Linked DNA regions of Homo sapiens: region 1 is linked to region 2. The links are contacts of gene promoters, found by promoter capture Hi-C in human tissues and cell types (Jung and others, 2019). All regions are on one chromosome and are shown on one strand. Each heading gives the region's core, a stretch centred on a gene start or on the middle of the fragment in contact. The rest is flanking DNA. Distances are from core to core; before and after follow the strand shown. Region 1 overlaps ZBTB44 (zinc finger and BTB domain containing 44). Region 2 holds the start of ST14 (ST14 transmembrane serine protease matriptase).

Region 1 (3,966 bases), core at 1,063-3,562, 130 kb before region 2:
ATCCGTTACTGCCACCCATTATCAACCCATAGGTATGCACGTGGTGAGTCTTTAGCTCCTTAAGAACACCAAAAATTTGCATGGCTAATTCTCTAGTAGGTGAGAGAACAAGGACTCCGCATGCATTCCTGGGCATGAATTTTAACAATGAGTTCTACTGCAGGTTTGAGAAAAGCCAGGGTTTTACCACTGCCTGTTTTTGCAGCTGCTAGAAGATCCCTGCCTTCCAGAAGTGGTCTGATACTTTCATGCTGAATTTCAGTCATGTTGGTAAAACCCATTTTTTTTTTTAACTTCAGAGTTTTCATTGACAATATTATGTAGAGAAGCAAATGAAGTATCCTCAAATGCTCCTGTGAGTCCCAGGGGCAGGCTGGGCACCTCACTGTCATCTTCATCATTATCTGGCTTCTCTACGTTATTTTCTGTTTCTTTAGGAGTCTCGGCACTTTCTTCTCAGATTCCTCTTTGTTTTCAGTTTTTGCTTTTTTTGTATCAGTCCCAGCATCATTCACCATTTTTCTCTTTTGATTCTGAATTGGGAGACTGCATTGCTGCTTCTCCATTGGTTAATACGGTGGATTTCTGGGGAGATTTTTTAGGTTTTATATCTTCCACTGCCTCTTGAGACATGTCTCCATTTGGAGCTTCTGATAAGCCCACATTCATAGAATGTTTTCATTTTTTAACCCTTCTACCTCTCATTGTTTCTTCAGACACATCTGCATTTTGAGTTTCTGACAGGGTCAGATTTGAGGCCCCTGCAACTTTAGGTTCTGGTGCCGCAGTTTGAGTTTCTGCTTCTTGATCTTCTTGCGCAGGAGTTTTTCATTGGCAGGTGAGACATTGCTGTCCAAGAAGTGCCTAGATCACGACGTCACACAGTACAGCTACTCAGTTCTCGGGGCTGACGTTGCTTCCACTTGTATACATATTTTAAAGCGTATATGCAGTTGAACTCTTGAGTACTTGGTGTGGACGCTTAAAAACTCTTTAGGGAAAATAAGGAGCTCTTTAAATGCTAGTTGACTAAAACTGACTTGAATTTTACTTGCTCATGTAAGGAGCCAAATGGATGAATAAGATAGATAGGCCCTCTATTCAGTCTTTCTTTCTAGATAAAATAATATGATGTGAATAGCAGATATCCCTTAAGTACTCTGATTAACCTGTTTTGCCTACCGTTCCATTATTGGAACACTAAGCATGTGGGAGTTATTTCTGTCCTGCTCAAGGTCATCGCTAAGGTCTGATTGCAAAAATTCAAATAATTGCAACCTCTGGCATAAATGGGTTAAATTATTATAAACAACAACATAATGGGGTGGGGAGAAATAACTGGGAATTGAAGATTTTTTTTTTTTTTTTTTTTTTTTTTTTTTTGGTCATATAGACCTTTGTGTAAATCCTGGTTTTGTTAACTTAGTTATAGGGAAATGGACAATTTAATTTGATTTTCTGTCTCCTCATTTAACACTGGATTTATTTTTATTTTTATTTTTATTTTTTTAAGACAGAGTCTCTCTCTGTCACCCAGGCTGGAGGGCAGTGGCGTGATCTCAGCTCACTGCAACTTCTGCCCCCCAGGTTCAAGCAATTCTTGTGCCTCAGGCGCCTGAGTAGTAGCTGGGGTTACAGGCGTGCACCACCACACCCAGCTAATTTTTGTATTTTTAGTAGAGACGGGGTTTCGCTGTGTTGGCCAGGCTGGTCTCAAACTCCTGGCCTCAAGAGATCCACCCATCTCGGCCCCACAAAGTACTGGGATTACAGGTGTGAGTTACCGTGCCCGGCCTATAACTGGATATAAAAAATCCTTTTACCAGAGTTTGTGAGTCCAGAGTGAGATAGTGACACTTGGTGGGAGTTATTCAATGTACATTAATTTATCTTCTCTTGATGTAGAAAGTAACAATCAGCATGACTTGGTGACTACTAACAAGGAGAGGAAATTCTAATCATTTAATGTTTCTGATTTAATTGATTTATTGATAACTCTCCATTACTTTTTCAAATCTCTGAACTAGAAAGGGCTTATTCATAGAGTAAAATGATTAGAATCTTTGTTTCATTGAAAAACAACTAGTTATAAAATGGTTTTTTTGTTTGTTTGTTTGTTTGTTTTGAGATGGAATTTCGCTTTTGTTGCCCAGGCTGGAGTGCAATGGTGCAGTCTTGGCCCACGGCAACCTCCGCCTCCCAGGTTCAACTGATTCTCCTGCCTCAACCTCCCAAGTAGCTGAGATGACGGCGTGCACCACCATACCCAGCTAATTTCTTTCTTTTTTTTTTTTTTTTTCTTTAAGTAGAGATGGAGTTTCATCATGTTGGCCAGGCTGGTCTCAAACTCCTGACCTCAGGTGATCCACCTACCTTGGCCTCCCAAAGTGCTGGGATTATAGGTGTGAGCCACCACACCCGGCCAAATGGTCTTTTTTTTTTTTTTTTTTGATACAAGATCTTGCTGTCATCCCGGCTGGAGTGCAGTGGTGAAATCACAGCTCACTGTAGTCTCAACCTCCCAGGCTCAAGTGATCCTCCTGCCTCAGCCTCTTGTGTAGCCAGGACTACAGGTGCACAGCACCACACTTAGCTAATTTTTTTTTTTTTTTTTTAATTTTTAGTAGAGACAAGTTCTCTCTGTGTTGCCCAGGCTGGTCTTGAACTCCTAGGCTCAAATGAGCTTCCTGCCTTGGCCTCCCAAAGTGCTGGGATTATATGCATGAGCCATTGTTCCAGGCCTAAAATTATCTTTTTACAACTCAGATAAAGTAGTCCATTTGAAATTCTCCTTGAAAACTTAAAAAACACTTAAGGGAAGTAAACTAGTGTGAAATAAAGATCACAAAACACTTTCAGTAGTGTTCAGAAAAAGAAAAAGCATGTTCCCAAATATGAGTTCTCATGTAAATCTAATCTAAAAACTTGGTTCATATCATGGGAAAATGCCTTTACTTAGATTGATAAGAGTGACAAGTTTAGAGCAAAATATAAAATATGAGGTACTGCTCTATTTGTAAAGTAAAAAAGAGTCTTAATAGTGAGAAACGTCTTATTTTAATAACTTTTGGTGGGGTGGGTGAGTTGTAATTTTCACTAGTTTGAGTACACGTATACATTTTCCATGTAAGTTTAACATGAAGTTTCTACGTTGAGCTGTGGTTCTTCCATTCCTAAATCAATTGTTTTAACAGGTTTCCTGCAAAACGTTTGTATGTTGTGTATGTTACACTCTTAAAATACTAATTTATATGTTTTGTTTATCATTTGCAATTAAGCTTTTAATAATAATGTGATTGAACATAAAAGAATAATACGCTTATCCCAAAAATAAGCACCGTAAATCAAGAACATTTATTCAGCAATTTTTCAATGCACACTTTTATTTATTTTTTTAATTTTTAATTTTTTTCTTATGATCTTGTTGCATACCAGTGTATGTACTCTTTTAGGCAGTTATAGAATATAGACAAGGCTCAGCCTTTTCTGTCAAGTCTCATTAGGCCCATGGGTGAGCAAAATCTGTAAACTACTTACTGATCACTTGTATGTAAAGTATTATACTGGTGGATAGTGACTTTTTTTATGGAATCACTGCAGTATAATAAGCCATATTAAGAGTATAACACATAAATGGTATAGAAACAGAAATAATTAAGAACATCTGCTGGTTTGTCCACACAAATCTTGTACACAAATGTGCATAGCGGCTTTATTCGTAATAGCCCAACTGCAAACAACTCAAGTCTATCAACAATTAAATGATAAACAGATTGTGTTACATCCATGCAATGAAATAGTATTCAGCAATAAAAAGAACAAAAATCCTTACGCTCAACAGCATGGATGAATCTCAGAATAATTATGTCCATGAAAGAAGCCAGAAAAAAAGAGTACATACTATATAATCCCATTTATATAAAATTCTAGAAAATGGAGCTACTAAAGTGTAAAGCACATTGATAA
Region 2 (3,738 bases), core at 1,017-3,516:
CGGCCGGGGATGGACATCCTAGCTGCAAACACACACTACAGGGTGATCCCAGGGACTGGGATTTCTGGTGAGGCCAGGGATGGGAGGAATCTGCAAGACATGGAAATGAGCTTTGGCCAATTTCCTCTGGACACTCCGCCTCACAGCTAACTTTGGCATTCGTCTCTTAGTTTCGCTCTCAAGACTGGATGTTCTTTAAAGGAAACAACCACATCTTACTGGTCTCTGAGAGCCTTCCCTTCACCCATGGGACTAGGTACTGAGTTAGTTCAATAAAGCTCGGCAGGAGAAAAGACAAAGAGCAAGCCAAGAGAATGAAAATGGCAGAGGGGGAAGGAACAGCCCAAGGGCGCAGAGAGCAAATGAGCTTCGCAGAGGAGGAGGAAATGAGCAGGGATGGGGGAAACTAAAGCCAGGGCTTGCAGGTGACAAGACAAGTCCGCTGAATGTGGGATCCTGGGGGTGAGTGGAAGGTGAGCCCCAGCCTGGCTGCTTGTCAGGTGGTGAGATGGCTCAGAGAGGAGGCTGGACCACACGACCAGGAAGACCCTGCTTTCCCCGTGTGGGCAGGAGAGTCCTAGAAAGGGAAGTCAGGGAGAACAAACTTGGGGTGGGGGCACCGGACTGCCCTGAAATAACAAATTCCAAACAGCAGGTTCTCTGCTGAAGAGGCAGGGAGTCTAGAACCCCAAGTAGGCAATTAGCAAGGACACAAACATAGCAATTACAGCAAGGAAGAGAAGGTGAATCTGCCTCACAGCAGGGCACAGGCACAGCCAGGGGAAGGGCCCAAGCCTTCAGGTCCACTGGAAGCTTTCCTCCTTGCTGAGGGTGAAAAGTGGAGAAAATAGCAGAGCCCAGCCCCAGGTCCTGTCTGTGGTGCAGGCAGCCTCCAAAGCCCCAGCGTCTGATTTTCTGCAAGCTCCCTAGGTCGGGATGCTGCTTGGACAAAAGGAATTGATCTGAGACAGCACCAAAATCAGGCCTGACTTAGGGAGCAACGGCGGAGACTATGGAGCCCAGGGGCACCCGGAAGGAGGGGAGAAAGTGAGGGTTGGCAGGGCAGGGAGGCCATCATTTGCAGAGGAGCAAAACTCTCTGCCACACAGCCCCTGCCTCTCAGCGCCGCCCTGACCTGGTATGCCCTGGCCTTCCAGGAAACCTGGGGGTCTGCCTTGGACAGAGAGGGTAGAGACCTGGCTGCTGGTCCCGCCCGGGCACTACCACCTAGGTGGGTCCGTCAATGAAGTGACTAGCGACCCATCCCCAACTCCATACAGGAACATGTAATCTTTTTGAGATCTTTCAATAGGTCTTTCATTGTTCTTTCTGCCAAAGAAGAGCTTCCTGTTTCGGTACTTCGCAAAAGGCTCAAGACATGTGTGTTCCCACATCCCTTCCCATACAGCCGCCTTCCCAAAGGGCTCCATCCCCTCTCGAGAAGCCCAGGCAAGCCCAACTCTGGAGTTCTTAGCTCCAGCCCGTATGGCAGCCAAAGCCCTGGCCTCCCAGTTGTCCTCTGCGAGGTCCCAAAGCGCCTTTTGACGGGGAAGGAGAGAGACGAAAGAAACTTTCTGCAGAGGCCAAGGATGGCTGAGACTCCAAACCCTCCTGAAATTTCACTTCCTCCCAAATAACCCCACTCCAAGCCCCTGGTTTCTTCCAGATGTTCACTAACAGCGCGAGAGTCATGGAGGGGCCGAGACGGAGCCCCTTTTTTCAACTCAGGGAAAGAAAGGACCGAGGGCGCAGGAAGGCCCAGGGGCTTCCCGCCTCCCCCTGGCGGGGCGCAGCCGGTCCGGTACCAAAGGTCCGGCCAGCCCCGCCCGCCCGCGGCCCGGCACCCGCTGAACAGGAAATTCCACCTGTGCGCCCAGAGCTCGGCCACCGACGGACACGCCAGGGGAGCCGGCCGAGCCCAGCGCCGCGCTGCAGGGTCGGGCGGGCAGGAGCTTCCCAGCGCCCCGGGTCCCCGGCCCGCGCTCACCTCGTGCCGGGAGTTGTACTTGAGTCCCGCGCCGAAGTCCTTCGGGCCCCCTCCGCCCTTGCGGGCCCGATCGCTCCCCATGGTCCCCGAGGCCGCTCGCGGGTCTCACAGGCGTCGTCCCTGCCGGCGGCCGGCTCCCATGGCCCGCAGGGCGCGGGGCGCGGGGCGCAGGCGGCGGGATTCCGGGCAGGCCCAGCGCGCCCGACCGGCGGCGGTGCCCTCGCCCTGGCGCGCTCTCTCTCCCTCTTCCTCTTTCTCCGGCTGCAGCTCCGCTCTCACACTCCGGCCCGGCCCACGCAGGTAGTTTCAGGGTGTGGCCTCGGCCCGCCCAGCCCGCCGCGCTCGCCTGCGCACCTGCCCGGCTCACCTGCCCGCCCCCGCCGGCCCTGGGGGAGGCTCCTCCCCTCGGCTCTGGGCCTGAAGGTGAGGGGGCCTCACTCGGGTGGTGGTCGCTAAGGCCCTCACCATCACCACGACGGCGTTCACCACCCCTCCGGCCCTCCAGGGGCCCTGCCCCGGGAGGGCAGCCCTTTATCCACCTCCTTGATGCCAACCATCTTTTCCCTCCTCCCTCATGCGCCTCCGGTCTCTCCCCTTCACCTTGCTCACTTTGCTACAGGACTAAATCGCATTTATGAACCCCCCAAAACCAAACAGAAACCAGAACCGCCCCTGGCCCAGGCTCCCCGTCGGCTACGCAGCCTCCTGTTCTCCAGGCGGGAGGCGCTTGCTGGCCTGCGCCCGGCTACCCTGGGGAGGCCCAGTGACATGAGCTGTGCCACCAGATGCCCTCTGAGCCATCCCAACGCCCCTCGCCCACTTGCAGCATCTGATGCTTCCTCAAATGCCCCCTTTCCCTGGATTCCGGTCCTCCTTTCTAGTCCTAAATGTCATGATTCCCAAAGTTCTCCCTTCAGTTTCATCCCTTTCTTCTCTAAGCTTTTTCTCTTGGCAGCACGTCTCATCTTACGACTTCAGACAGGAAGACCTCCCTCCCAGCACAGACACCACCAAGGAGTGCCAGTTCTGCCTTAGCGGTCGCCTGGGGACGTCTCCATTTATGTTCTACTGTATTCTGTAGCCAATGAACATTACCAAGCACACACTAGGCGCTAAGCACTGTCCTGGGTACAGGGAAACAGGAGTGAACAAAATAAAAATCCCTGCTTTGAGATCAACAAGCCCCATCTTCCTTCCCTGACTTGCCCATTTTCCACTGTTTTCTCTAATTCTAATGGCAGCATTCTCCCAGGCTCAAATCCTGGAATCATCTTTGATTCTCCACCCTGCTTACATCTCATATCCAATTAGTTCCAAATCTGATCAAGACTCTGCTGACAAGCATAGCCCTTCCATTCCTGCGCATTAGAAGACCGCTATTCGAGTCCTCAGAGCCCTTTGCCTGGTTAAGAAAGATCTCCTGCCTCTGGGCTGCCACCCTCTGATCTCTCCTACACAAAGCAGTCAGGTAAATCTGAAACCACAGCTCCTTTATGACTTTCCGTGTCTCCCGGATCAAATCCAACCTCCTTAGCCCAGCTTCACACTCTGCCCTGTCCTCCCTTAACACCGTGCCTCCAAGCATTCCTGTTTGGAGCCCCTCTCTCCAGCCAGGCGTTCTGATCTTGGCAGCTTTCATAAAGCTTTTCATCCCCTGGAAGCTCTTCTCCTTCATACTCCTTCCGCATATTGGGTCGAAGACACCGATGGGGTTTTTTAGTGTTGTTCATTGAATGTTTTTAGCTCTCTGC

Evidence for each region. The method cuts DNA at HindIII sites, captures the fragments that hold promoters and counts their contacts. A contact is called where the count stands out against the background at its distance.
Region 1: a contact is called between a fragment that was not itself captured here and the fragment with the promoter of ST14 in region 2, in 2 of the 25 tissues and cell types used here (dorsolateral prefrontal cortex and spleen).

What each region holds. Positions count from the first base shown.
Region 1 is chr11:130,291,956-130,295,921 of GRCh38, reverse strand. The region is part of intron 1 of ZBTB44 (zinc finger and BTB domain containing 44); the gene reads left to right. It also overlaps the pseudogene DDX18P5. Among named protein-coding and RNA genes, the nearest start is that of ZBTB44, 21 kb to the left of the region's middle. RefSeq lists an enhancer at 1-311. The HindIII fragment of the contact is 9,295 bases long and covers 1-3,966 here.
Region 2 is chr11:130,158,310-130,162,047 of GRCh38, reverse strand. It overlaps ST14 (ST14 transmembrane serine protease matriptase), which reads right to left and starts at 2,266. Exons shown (of 19, transcript NM_021978.4): 1 at 1,988-2,266. The coding sequence starts at 2,068. RefSeq lists an enhancer at 531-1,030 and silencers at 2,118-2,187, 2,268-2,387. The HindIII fragment of the contact is 3,998 bases long and covers 1-3,278 here.